Regions from separate parts of the Homo sapiens genome. Here region 1 is linked to region 2. Evidence: promoter capture Hi-C in 16 types of primary human blood cells and fetal thymus (Javierre and others, 2016). All regions are on one chromosome and are shown on one strand. Each heading gives the region's core, a stretch centred on a gene start or on the middle of the fragment in contact. The rest is flanking DNA. Distances are from core to core; before and after follow the strand shown.

The links. Contacts are between HindIII fragments. The CHiCAGO score rates a contact against its expected background, and 5 or more counts as called.
Region 1: a contact is called between a fragment that was not itself captured here and the fragment with the promoter of ACAT2 in region 2, in 1 of 17 cell types (fetal thymus). The highest score is 5.8, in fetal thymus.

Annotation. Positions count from the first base shown.
Region 1 is chr6:152,978,324-152,985,371 of GRCh38, reverse strand. FBXO5 (F-box protein 5) reads left to right here and starts at 2,331. Exons shown (of 5, transcript NM_012177.5): 1 at 2,331-2,515. The coding sequence starts at 2,413. RefSeq lists enhancers at 738-837, 1,368-1,487, 1,778-1,997 and silencers at 2,028-2,347, 2,828-2,897. The HindIII fragment of the contact is 257 bases long and covers 3,426-3,682 here.
Region 2 is chr6:159,760,382-159,767,244 of GRCh38, reverse strand. ACAT2 (acetyl-CoA acetyltransferase 2) reads right to left here and starts at 5,200. Exons shown (of 9, transcript NM_005891.3): 1 at 5,103-5,200; 2 at 4,192-4,326; 3 at 59-240. The coding sequence starts at 5,157. SOD2-OT1 (SOD2 overlapping transcript 1) reads left to right here and starts at 4,913. Exons shown (of 2, transcript NR_037166.1): 1 at 4,913-5,251; 2 at 5,609-6,863. It also overlaps a transcript of SOD2 not described here. RefSeq lists enhancers at 3,319-3,819, 5,888-5,947 and silencers at 5,228-5,377, 5,398-5,457. The HindIII fragment of the contact is 5,525 bases long and covers 473-5,997 here.

The sequences.
Region 1 (7,048 bases), core at 2,305-4,804, 6.8 Mb after region 2:
GTATTTATGCCAGCATCTGAAAATAGAAGAGGTGAATACAATTATCTCTAAGGTCAAACTGTGAAGTAATGTGAAATGTACTAAAACCAACCAGGACTCCAGCAGATAGTGTTATAGGCTAGCATAGCATAAGAGGAAAGGACATGGACTTTTTGAATCCTGCAGACGGGCACTCGAATCTCCGCTTACTAGCTGTGTGGTTTTGGTAGCCACAGTGAGAATTAACTCACACTGAGAAGCACGACCATTGTACACTGAAAATAATGCTAACCTATTGTGAGAATGAAAGGCTAACATTTACATTCTTTTTTTTACATAAAAAAGCTATTATAATTTCAATATTCTATCAACAAATAACTACCTTGCCAAAATCCTTCCAACAGCTAACCACTGCAATCAGAAGAAAGTCTAAACTCTGCATGGAAAAACTACAAGGTCCCACAGGATCTGGCTTCTGCCTACCTCTCTAACCTCATCTCCTCTCTCTCTTGTTCACTAAGTCGTAGTCAGGCATTCCCTCTGCTTATTATTCCCTCTGCTTATTATGCAGCCCTGCATTGCCAGTTCAACGCATCTGGGTTCAAAGCCTCAGAAAGCGTCCTGACCATCCAAAATCCTTAACCTATACTAATCTGCATTCTCTACCCCCGATTACATTCTTTCATATCCTCTTTCGTGTTCTGAAATTGTTCACTGTCAACTTCTTTCCCATTGGTCTCTGTAAACTCCCTAAAGGACAGGACTTTGTCTTTTCAACCCTGAATCTCCAGGATCTAGCCCCAGGGCCAGGTTAGGGTGAGGCAAGGAAGCACAGGCCTCAGGTGCGTTTACGGGGATGAAAAAAATTTAAGTCATCAAGAGTGACACTATTTTAACATTTTTAAAAATGAAAAAGGCAAAAAACCCATGATGAACTAATTATCAAAATTTTAGGTAAAGACAGGATCCACCCAGCACTTGTATGATTCATCCTAATCCTGGCCGCGCCCCACAACTAATTATCAAAATTTTAGGTAAAGACAGGATCCACCCAGCACTTGTATGATTCATCCTAATCCTGGCCGCGCCCCACCGGACTCGTCACTAACGGTACTGAAAACTGACTACAGCCAAGAACTCACTCCGAGGCTGCAGAAAGGCACCAGAGGGAAACAGCAAAGGAGGATTCGCCGTTTTGGAGTTCACATCCCGTTGCTTCACTGGGCTGTAGCCATAAAGCTGAGTTCAGGGAATGCACTGCCCTACTTAAGTGCATATTCAAATTGTGAAAAGTTAAGCATCACTAATACTCCGGTACACTTTCATACTGACGTCCATGCCAGCCATCACTAAAAACTCCCTTGGCCACGGGGGTCCAGCCCAAGAGGGCGGGCACTTCTATTTATTCTTTTTTTGGGAGCAGGACTACTGTCTCCTACACCTGGCCCTTTAAGGAAAGGAACAAAAACCCAGGGGAGCGTAGCTGCACACTCAGTAAACTTAACGTTCCTATAAACCAGTAGCGTCTGAAGTGTGGTTGAAAATACAAATAAACGCGCTTGCAAGGAAGAAGTGCCTCGGTCCTACCCTCGGCCCCGCCGGAAGGCCCTGGGAGATGCAGCCGCAGGTCTCCTGCTACAGCCGCTGGGGAAGGCCGCACAGCCTCCTCGCCCACCCCGGAGGAAAAAATCGCGGGGGACTCCAGTGCGCAGGCGCCGACCCGCCAACTCCGCAGCCACAGCCCGCCAAGGCGCCTGCGCAGAGGCGTGGGTCAAGGGGAGGGTCGAGTTAGGAGGGAGAGCAGAGCGCGCGCGTAAATCCTAGAGAGGCGGGCTAAGCTGGACTGGGGGGAGGGTCCGTCTTCCGGAAAGTCTGGATTCCCGGACGAGCCGAGTTGCTGCTCACCGAACTCCCGTTCGAGAGATGATCGAAGAAAGTCGGCTACCATTTGTACCCATCAAAGATCTCCAGATGGAAGCCAGCGCTGAATTTGGGCTGAGATTAGGACTTGCAGGAGGCCGGTCCAGAAGACGGCGGAAGGAATCTTGGCGGGCGCACGCATGCGTGATAGACCCTCCACACGTGTGGCCGGGCCGCGGCCTCCCCGTGCTCGGAGGTCCCGCCCCCGGCCGTAGCATCTTTCCGGACGTGGGGAGCCGGTAAGCTGGAAGGGGGCTGGGCTTCGCGGCTCGGCCCCGCCTCGGCAGCCTCCAATTGGGCGCGGACGAGGGCGCCCCCACCCACTGCCCTCCTATTGGTGCGCGCATGCAAGCGACGCGTCTCATTGGACCGCGCGGATTTAGGCACCAAATTCAAAGATTTTAAAAGTACCAGCTGGCGCCTTTTAAGAGATACAGGTCTGTGAAGCAGGCAGGTTGCTCAGCTGCCCCCGGAGCGGTTCCTCCACCTGAGGCAGACTCCACGTCGGCTGGCATGAGCCGGCGCCCCTGCAGCTGCGCCCTACGGCCACCCCGCTGCTCCTGCAGCGCCAGCCCCAGCGCAGTGACAGCCGCCGGGCGCCCTCGACCCTCGGATAGTGAGTGAGGGGAGCGGTCGCGAGGGGGGCGCGCACGCCAGGAGGGGTGCACGGGGAGGGTCGCAGCCTGAGACCCTGACCCGACGTCCCTCGGAGCCTGGACGCGCGGCCATGCCACACGCCCGGCCTCGGGCGGCGGCAGCGGTTCCTGGGTCCGGGAGGAGGGCGGCTGGGTGTCGGGGGGAAGCCAGAAGAGCCAGATGTGCAGGGGCGGGATGGCGGGCCGCGGGGTCCCGCCACCCACGCCGACCGTGGACTCCAGCCCCGGGAGGTGCGGGTCGTGGCATCCCAGGGCGCCCTTTTTCCTCCTCGGAAGACCCACCTACCCCACCCTGCTTGAATAGGCGCCAAATGCCCCTCCCCTCCCCCACCCCGGGGCCCCCGGCGGTGACAGGGCTGCGAGCGAGAAGCCCCCAGGGCCTGGCCAGGTGCCTCACCTTCTCCCCCTGCGCCCCTTTTCTACATCTGCCCCGCACCCTCACAGCCAAAGGCAGTTTCCCCGATTTTTCGCGGTCCCAGCCTTGCTGGCGGGCGCGGGAGATCGCGCTCGCGGTTATCTCCCGCCTCCTCCGCGTGTCCCGCGCCCTGAGGGGCAGCCCCACCGATCCCTCAGGAGTTCCAGGGTCTCCCTCCCCACTCCCGCCAAATGGAGAGACACCCCCCCAACTCATTGGACCAAACTCAACTGGGACATCCAAACAAAAACGTTACTTTTTCCCAATTTTTTCTCCCTTTGCCCGTTAACCCAGTCTCAGGGCCTGGAGTGGAAAGGGAAGACTTTAAAAAAAGCAATTTTTACTACGAACCTTGAATTTGTCCATAGTATTAAGATGATTTTGTAAGAATCGAAGAATTGGTGACTTTTTCCCGATAACTCATGAAGAATTAGATAGTCCTTTATTTCAAAGCTTGCAGAGAATGGAATGCACTCAAATGCTTATTTTTATCCTCTTTGTTGCTACCTCTAAATAAAATCTATATGCACTTATTTTTACCTGAGAAATAACCCAAAATGAAAAAATTTAGCAATTCGGCATTGTACTATTTTGTAATGACTCTATTATTAAAAAAGAACTCTAGAAAAAAATACTTAATTTTAATTTTAATAGATTAAATATATTTCTAGAAGATCCTGGATCGTCAGTCTACCATCGAAATTCTGAAGCTTGATGGCCTTATGAGGGTTTTTTTTTTTTCTTTTTTGATAACTCTAATTGTCTTTACTACCTTGCTCCTCAGAAAGAAATGACTGCCTGTTGGAATTTTTTCCCCAGTTTACAGGTTTGAGGAGATGAAATTAAAAATACATATATGTTACTTCCAAGTAGTTTTCAAAGGAGGCTTTTGTAAAATTTTCTCTTAAAGATTACTTTATGGTCACAAGCATTGGGCCTCTTAAATTCTTAAGGAATAGCCATGCCTAACGTTGACCACATGGTCGTTATCTGTAGGTATTAGAGACTGGAACTTAATTATTTAACAGAAGAGTTACAAAGATTTTTAAGGACTGCAGCCTTATTTATGATATTTGATATGGAGGATCAGGTCTATATTGAAAAGTTAAATGTAAGATCAAACATTGTAAAATTTACTTTTCTCTATATGACTGGGCTGGGAGTTGGTAAATGAGAAGTTTAAACAATGCCATGTATGAGTCTTATTAGTGTCTGCACTTGGGGGAAAAATAGGAATAGGACATTCCAAGTTCACAAAGCTAGTCAAAAGGCTAAGCAAGGATTTTCATTCAAACTTGGATCTGATTCTTAAATCTATACATTCTAATGGAAAAGTATGTGTTACTCTGAAATATATACTTCTTTGTGAAATGTGTTTTACTACTTTCAAATGTTAATGATTGTCAATGTAAGGAATATGAAGGGATTTGGCTTATGTGATTAAAAATAGATTGTATTGACTAGACCCTTGTGATAGGGACTTTGCCTTGCATTTAGTCCTGTTTCATTGTCTTACTCCCATTTTATGGATGAGGAAAGTGAGGTTTTAAGAGTTAACTTCTTCAGTTTTCCATACTCAGTAAATAGCACTGTATACCTTCGATACTCAAGACTTAAACCCCAGGGTGTTTTTTTACTCTCCTTTTCTTCATATCCAGATCTAGTAGATTAGCAGCAAGTTGACTTTACCCTTCTAAATAACAGACCTTGAATTTATGCAGTTATTTTCATTTCCACTACAATCCTTCTAGTCTGGGTTTCCCACACTCTACTTCTGTCATAAACACTTCTAACTATTCTCTCTGCTTCTACTTACCTTCCTGCAATTCATTCTCCACAATTGCCAATGATCTTTTAAAAATGTAAACCAAATTTCTCCACTTTTGACCCAGCCTACCCCACAAATCTGCAGATCATTCTACTTCTTCAACTATAATTTTCAATAACCTCCCCCAACTCAGCCCTACAGATATTTCTCTTCCTTGAACACTCACATTTTTCCTTGCTTCCTGTGTTTCCCACCATCTGGAACTCCTCCACCAGATTTCCATAAGGTGTTCAGATCTCAGAATGTCAGCTTTGCTGAAAGATCATCCCTAATTAATATCTTTCTCTCTCCCTACCCTGTCACTGAATGGATGTTGGATAAATAAGTGAAATGGTTCAACTGAACTCTTAGCCCTCATCTGTTTCATTCAAGAGGTTATGAAGCCATATAATGTTTTCTGTCTTTCTGGATAATAATTATATGAATACTTCACATATTTCCCAAATTTGGCCTGGTCATTGGAAAACACTTAGCTAGTTAAAAGGAATGGATTTAACCTTTTGCAAACAGTTGCTTCAGCTTCCATTTTTATAAAATATGATGCTATTCTATTTCTTCTGCAGTATTGTTATGGAAATGAAAAATACATTAATTTCATATTTTAAAATTAAATCTACAACCAACATCCAGATTTCACTCTCATTTAATACCTTTTTCCAAAAAAAAGGAAACCACAGTGCTTGGAGAAATGACTGATTCTAGGGCTGAAACGGAAATTATAAGATGCACTTAGAGCATCTTGTAGTCCCAGAAAGTAAGGGATGTTCAAAACACAAAATGATTTAAGTATGTGAAATGGACACCAATGTCAACTGCAAGAGCTCACAATAGCAAAAGCTGGAACAATTTGAGCAATACAGTAAATAGTATTGGATTATAACCCAAAGTCTATGAGTTTATACTGATATAAATGATTGGTAGTATGAATAAATAGGAGATTAATGGACAAATCTGCTGTAAAGAAGAATTCCAAATGATTTATAAATTTACTCCCCACTCCTTTAAGTGTGAGGTGTACATAGTGACTTCCTTCCAAAAAGTTTCAAATGGAAAAAGAACAAAAAGGAGTAACTTTACATTTGGAGCAAGCTCAGAAATACTACCTCAGCCAAGTAATCAAGGCTAACAACAGTTCAAATCATAGCACCTTACCTCTGGTCTAAAAACCCACAGCCCCAGACTAAGGCTGAGAAAAACTTGACAAATCCTAATTGTGGAACAGGCTACAAAATAACCAGTATTTCTCAGAGTTGTCAAGGTAATTATAAACAAGGAAATTGTCATAGTCAAGAGGAGCCTAAGGAGATATGATGACTAAATGTAATGTATCCTGGATAAGACCCGGGAACAGAAAAAAGATTTTAGGTAGAAACTACAGCAGTCCACATAAAATAGGGATTTTAGTTAATAATGCAACAATATTGGTTAATTTGTTGTGACATGCATTACTGTTAGTAATATAAGTTAAGCAATGGGTGTACAGGAATTCTGCACTATCCTTGCAGCTTTTCTGTGAATTCAAATAAGTTTATTAAAATTCTTTTAAAATACTAAACCTTTTTTTTTCTTTTTTCTTTTTTTTTAAGACAGGGTTTCCCTCTGTCTTCCAGGCTGGAATGCAGTGGTATGATCACAACTCCCTGCAGCCTCAACCTCCCGGGCTCAAGCAATTCTCCCGCCTCAGCCTCCCTAGTAGTTGGTACCAAAGGCACATGCCACCATGCCCAGCTAGTTTCTTTTTTTAATTGTTGTAGAGATGGAGTCTCTTTATGTTGCCCAGACTGGTCTGAACTCCTGAGCTCAAGCAGTCCCCCAACCTCAGCCTCCCAAAGTGTTGGGATTATAGGCATGAGCCACTGCACCTTACCTAAATACTAAATCTAATTATCCATGTGAAAATACTGTTGTTGCAAGAGGAACGTGGTAGTCATTTTAACTCCTTAAGTGCTAATTTCGTGAGGAAGAGTACAGATTCTAATGTTGGTATTAGCTAACAAAAAAAAATGGGAAACACATTTTTATATCATATGTCTTCATTGTGTCAGGCACTGCCATTTGCTTGGATTTTGTCATAAGCAGTAACAGTTATGTCTGGCCTTTAAGGAAATTAAAGTACTTTTTAAAATTTCAATTTGGTAGTGCTTTAGAGTAGAGTTTGATGAGGTCTGAGAAGTCCCCCGCCCCCCCCCCCCCCCCAAAAAATGAAGCTCTCCATGATTAATGGATTAGAAGCTAAATAAGCAAAGGAAG
Region 2 (6,863 bases), core at 3,951-6,450:
TAGACATGAGTTTCTCAGTGTGAGGTCAGTGAAAGCCACCTCATCAGAGAGGCCTTACCTTGCTCATATTTTCCATGCCTCCTGCAACCACAATGCTGGAGTCTCCTATCCCTATTGACTGGACTGCAAGGCACACAGCTTTTAGGCCTGACCCACAGATCATCTGGCAGCTCCATGCTGGAACAGAGTAGGGAATTCCTGCACCCACACTGGCTTGTCTAACAGGATTCTGCCCACAGCCTAGAAAGAGGAACACAGAGGACTCTTAGCAATCAAGGAGAAAGACAAAATGTCACAGTGAAAGTGTGTGGAAAATTGCCAGTTGGGTTACCTGCCACTTCTGAAAGCCTACAGGTCAAGTAAGTGCCCACTGGAGGCAAAAAGGCCTGTATACACTCTCCACCTGTCACAGTCTAGCCCTTGAATATATACTGCCTTGTGCTGCTCTGTAGGTATTTCATAGATATAAGCTTTCTCCTCCATAAATAAGTCATTAATACATTAAGAAAGAAGTGTCATCCTCATCTTTTGATATGGCTTAAATAGTTGGGCGCGGTGGCTCATGCCTGTAATCCCAGCACTTTGGGAGGCCAAGGAGGGCAGATCACCTGAGGTCGGGAGTTTGAGACCAGCCTGACCAACATGGAGAAACTCTGTCTGTACTAAAAATACAAAATTAGCTAGGCGTGGTGGCGCATGAGTGTAATCCTAGTTACTAGGGAGGCTGAGGCAGGAGAATTGCTTGAACCTGGGAAGCGGAGGTTGCGGTGAGCTGAGATCACACCATTACACTCCAGCCTGGGCAACAAGGGCGAAACTCCGTCTCAAAAAAAAAAAAGTGCGGGGGGGTGCTTAAATAAGCATTATCAAACCTATGTCTAATAAACACAGGATATAACCTAGGCATTATCAGTGTTTCTAACTAGGGCCATTTGCTCCCAAGATCATGGCTTAAGACACTTGAGAAGAAAAAGGGTTACTTAAAAAGGAAAACCTTTGATAATAAGCAGTTCTGTTCTTGCTTAGTATTCATTACACTATGCTTAAATGGTTATATAACAAAATATATACAAACTCAGAATTCACAAATACCTTTTTTTCTCATTCTGAGTACTGAAACACAAATATCTTTTCATAATTCAACTATGGGACTTCCTTTAGTTGGGAAGAAATACATAATTTACTTAAAGTAGCACAGAAGAGAATGGAGTTAAAAGTTTCAAATATTCTCAATCGCCATTGTCTGTTATCAGAGTCAATGGTAAATGTTTATAAAGTGGTTACTCTATTCCCAGTTTCAGATATACTCAAACCTACCACCCTTCCTTGGAGAGTTTGTGGGGAAGAACTAGCAAATAAGTCGCTGATAAAAACTTAGAGATTATATTCATCACAATGTTATCAATCTGGGATTAGGCTGGAAACTAAAAACGGGTAAGGTTACTTGAGACTGAAAACATATGCAGGATCATATACATATTAAAAAGACAGGCCCAGTGCGGTGCCTCAGGCTGTGAGCAGTGGCTCACACCTGTAATCCCAGCACTTTGGGAGGCCGGGGGAGGGGGGCGCATTACTTGAGGTCAGGAGTTTGAGACCAGCCTGGACAATATGGTGAAACCCCCCCTCTCTACTAAAAATACAAAAATTAGCTGGGCATGGTGGTGCACGCCTGTAATCCCAGCTACTCAGGAGGTTGAGGCAGGAGAATTGCTTGAACCTGAGACAGAGGTTGCAGTGAGCCGAGATTGTACGGCTGCACTCCACCAGCCTGGGCGACAGAGTGAGACTCCATCTCAAAAAAAAGAAAAAGAAGAAATGAGGTACAGGGCTGGGCATGGTGGCTCATGCCTGTAATCCCAGCACTTTGGGAGGCCGAGGCGGGTGGATAACTTGAGGTCAGAAGTTCGAGACCAGCCTGGCCAACATGTTGAAACCCCATCTCTACTAAAAATACAAAAATTAGCTGGGCACAGTGGCAGGCACCTGTAATCCCAGTCACTTGGGAGGCTGAGGCAGAAGAATCACTGGAACCCGGGAGGCAGAGGTTGCAGTGAGCCAAGATTGCGTCACTGCACTCCAGCCTGGGCAACAGAGTGGGACTCCATCTCAAAAAAAGAAAAAGAAAGAAATGAGGTGCTAACACAATTAATAATGCTAGCATTTAGCATACTACGAGCTTCATGAGAATGAGAATTTCTATCTGATATGAACATTGCTTATCTCCAGCTGCTAAAATAGTGCCTGGCACAAAGTAGGTGCTCAATAAACATTTGTTACATGATTGTAGAAGGTATCTGGCTCAAGGAATAGGACAGATCTAAGTTCAAGTGCTAGCTCCACTTCAAACTGTGACCCTGGTAAGTCATTTAACCTCTTAAACTCTCATTTATTCATTTGTAAAATGAAGATAATAGGATATAACAGACTTGTGAGGAAGATTAAATGAGGTAATGAAAGGAAAGCATTTAGCACAGTGCTTTAAAAGCCTTAAACTTAGTAGACATGCACCGGTAGTCCCAGCTAGCTCAGAAGTTCAAGGGCATGGTGCACCATGATTGTGCCTGTGAACAGCCATTGCACTCACGCCCAGGCAACAGACAGACTCCACTTCTACAAAAAAATTTAAAAAATTAGCCAGGTGTGGTGGCCTGCTCCTGTAATCCCAGCTACTCCAGAGGCTGAGGTGGGAGGATACCGTGGAGCCCAGGAGTTTGAGGTTATAGTGGGCTACGATTGATTACACCACTGCATTCCAGCCTGGACAACAGAGTGAGACCCTGTCTCTTTAAATAATAATAATAATAATTAATTAATTAATTACGAGTGTTCAAACCCAAAGAATCAGAAGATGGGGGCACTCTCAGGACTCAGCTATATTCCTCTGGGGAGTGATATGCCCCATTTGCAAGGGGCATGATGTGGCACCTATTTTCCAAGCTCAGAACTGAGCCCTAAGAGGGCAGGGAACTTACCTGTATTGTTGGAACCATACTCCCAGCACTAAGCACAGTATGGGGCACATAGGAGGAACTGAATACATTTTTGTTGAATGAGTGACACTTTGAGGTAGTAAGGAGGAGCAGGCATACTTTCCTATGCGTCAGGCTGGCCCTGCTGCTGCTTCTTCTTCTTCTTTTTAAAAGGAGTCTCACTCTGTTGCCCAGGCTGAATGGAGTGCAGTGGCACAATCTCAGCTCACTGCAAGCTCCGCCTCCCGGGTTCACGCCATTCTCCTGTCTCAGCCTCCCAAGTAGCTGGGAATACAGGCGCCCGCCACCACACCCGGCTAATTTTTTGTATTTTTAGTAGAAACGGGGTTTCACCGTGTCAGCCAGGATGGTCTTGATCTCCTGACCTCATGATCCGCCCACCTCGGCCTCCCAGAGTGCTGGGATTACAGGCGTGAGCCACCGGGCCCGGCCGGCCCTGCTTCGTAAGAATGAAAAGGCAGTGGGCCGCCTGTAGTCCCAGCTACTCGGGAGGCTGAGGCAGGAGAATGGCGTGAAACCGGGAGACGGAGCTTGCAGTGAGCCGAGATCACGCCACTGCACTCCAGCCTGGGCCACAGAGAGAGACTCCGTCTCAAAAAAAAAAAAAAAAAAAAAAAAAAAAGGAAAAGAAAAGGCAGTGTAGGTGGTGTAGGTCAGTGGTCTAAGTTCATTCACAAAAAGCATATTAATGAAGCTAAGTCTTTTTGTTTGTTTAGAGAAGGGGTCTCACTCTGTCACCCATGACGGAGTGCAGTGACACAATCACTGCAGTCTCAAACTCCTGGGCTCAAGTGATCCTCCCACCTCAGCCTCTCCAGTAGCTGGGAGGCACAGGCCATCATACCTGGCTATTTTATTTTTTGTAGAGACGGGGTCTTGCTTTGTTGCCCAGGCTAGTCTCAAACTTCTGGACTCAAGTGATCCTTCCTCCTCCGCCTCCCAAAGTGCTGGGATTACAGGCGGGAGCCACCCTGCCTGGCCAAGAAGCTGAGTCTCAAGCTGGATAGAAGCTACTGACAGGGCTGGAAGAAGGGGGCCAACAGGAGGAATCATAACAGAGGGAACTCTGAGCAAAAGCAAGGAGGCAAGAACTTGAGTGAGTGAGAGAGTGTGTGAGTGTGTGAGAGTGTGTGTGTGTGTGTGTGTTTATGGGCTGTTTCTAATAAGCCTGACTTCTCCTGGAATCACTGAGACTTACCTGCTGCCAAGACATGTCCAAAGATGACCTCAGACACATCTTCCGGAGCCACAGTGGCCCTCTTCAAGACTTCTTTGATGACAGTGGAGCCCAGGTCCTGGACAGGAACAGCAGCTAAGGCACCATTGAAGGAACCTACAATAGAAAGGCGGAGAGCGTGGACATCACAAGCCTGCGGGTAATACGGGAACCACCTACGAGCAGGGGAGCCTCATGACCCTGTTTGGCAAGGCCACGCGAGGAGGCAGTGCCCTCTCCTCCCACACGTTCCTACACCTGCTGGTCTGAGCAAAGGTCAAGGTGGGTGCCACAACTCGCAGCAGCCGAGGGCTGGACAGGCGACCTCCAGAACGGCCTAGGGACGCCGCTGTAGCCCTTCTATTTCCCCAAATCCGAAGGACTGGATGCGACCCCATGCTTCCCAAACAAAAGGAACCGGCGGGTCAAGGGCGTTGAAAACCATGCGGCACGAAGGAGACGAAGTCACGACTTCTAGCCATTGTGTGACAGCCCGACCCCAGCCCAAAGCCGGGCTCAGACCACCTAGCAGTTCCGCCCCTGCCGCAGGCATTACCGATGGCGCCTCCCGGAGCCGGCCAATCAGGGGCCCCGGAGGAGAACACCTCCCTACGCCAACCAATGGGAGAGGCAGGCCACGCGATGGCTCTACCCCGGGAGCCAATCCAAGCACGAGGGACGGAGTGCGCACATCGGGAGAGGAGAGGGTGGGGCTGTAGCACCAGGTCAGGGAACGCGGGAGCCGCAGGGTTCCAGGGATCCCGCGGCTCCTCGCGGCTTGGCCTGACCGGCTTCCTCCACATACGCCCCTCTCCTACACAAGTCCGGCCCTCGGCGCTCCTGCCGAAGCAGCAGGCGCCTCGGACTCTGCGCGGCTCCCGCCGGCCACTCACCTATGATGGTCCGCGCCGCCGAGACGATGACCACAGGATCTGAGCCTGCATTCATCTTGCTTCTCCTGCCGCCGTCTGCCCTGCGCTGCCTGCAAGCTAGGCAAAGCTCCTCCTCGCAGCCCACAGGCCTGCCGCGGGCGGGACCTGAGGTAGCCCCGCCCCTCGCCCTCCACCTCCCCGCGCACCACCTCCCCGCGCATCCCACTGTGCGCAGGCGCAAGGCCGGAGCAGGGGCGGGCGGAGGCGCGCGGGGCGCGGGGCGCGGGGCGCGGGGCGGAAGTGAGGCCGGGGCGCGGGGCGCGGGGCGGAAGTGAGGCCGGGGTCTGGGCTTGCGGGCAGAACCGCGGACCTCGGACGCATTTACAGAGCGCCTGAAACCCCAGTGTTTCTGGACACCCCAATGTTGGAGTTCCCCGACTTGACGTCTTGGGCTTTTTTTTAAAAAATCTTAGGGTTTCTCGAAACAGTAAAGACTGGGGGGTGACAAAGACTTATCTCTCGTTCAGCTCAGGACTGGAATCCCACGGGCGAGAATCTCGAGTGCGAGCCCGGCCCGCGGCGGGTCTCAGCACAGCTCTGATGGGTCCTTTTGCTCTCGGCGGCTTCGGGAGGTCCTATGCGTTTCTCCTGGCGCCAGTCATTCGCTCGCGTGAGGGGCTTGCTAGGAGCGTCTCGGTGCGAGCCCCCTGCCTTCTAAGATCAACTCTGGCTGTGAACGGGTGAGGACGCCGGGAGCGTCTTAGCGTCACAAAAGTTCCTTTGGTTGACGTTTGGACAGTGAAAGGAGCATGTAACAAGTGGGGTCAGTTTTGTTTAAAACCCTTTCTGACTTCCCAGCCTCTTACTGGGCAAAGTTCATAATTTTTCTGAGCTTTCTAGGGTTTCCAGGCAAGCTTATGAGGGGCCACCGTTACAGCAACTTGTTGGGAACACCTGGATAGTGGAACAAGAAAGCTTTGTCACAAAGTCATGAAGGGGAAAACTGTTGACGGACCTGGAGAATCTTCCTGAAGAACTTTAAAGTTGATTGAAAGAATCATTAAATCCTGGAAACCTACATTAAGACTTTGCAGAGATATGCGGATGGGTCAGATAAATCAGAGAAGGTAAAGAGTGTAGGCCCCAGAGGTGGGGCAATAGAGAAGGAAAAAAATTGCATAACAGTGCAATTTCAGGAGAAATCTTTAGGGTCTGGAATAGTGGTGAAATCAGCTGTCTACTCTGCTAAGAACTCAGCAGCACACTGAAGTCTCTTCAGTTGTCTTCAATGTGTTTCCTGTCCCCTAACATATCTGAGTCCAAGGAATTCAAGGAATGCCTCCCGTGGCTTTTGCTCTATTCTATCCCATTTTCCCCTTACTCCCTGGCCACTTCTGAGTCTTTGTGGGCTTACTCTCACATCCCCTTAACATGTTCCCCAAGGCTCCTACTTTGCACCAGCTCCCTGGGTAATACCAGTCATTCCTACGGCATCAATCACCACCTGTATACTGACAAGTCTGAAATCCTTACATCTAACCTCGTCTCCTAAGCTGACTGACCCTCTTCATTTAAATTCTTACAAGCACATCAGGTCGGGCACCTTGGCTCACACCTGTAATCCCAGCACTTTGGGAGGCCGAGGAGGGCGGATCATTTGAGGTCAGCAGTTTGACACCAGCCTGGCCAACATGGTGATATCCCGTTTCTACCATAAAATAGAAAAATTAGCCGGGCGTGGTGCCGTGCGCCTGTAATCCCAGCTACTGGGGAGGCTGACAT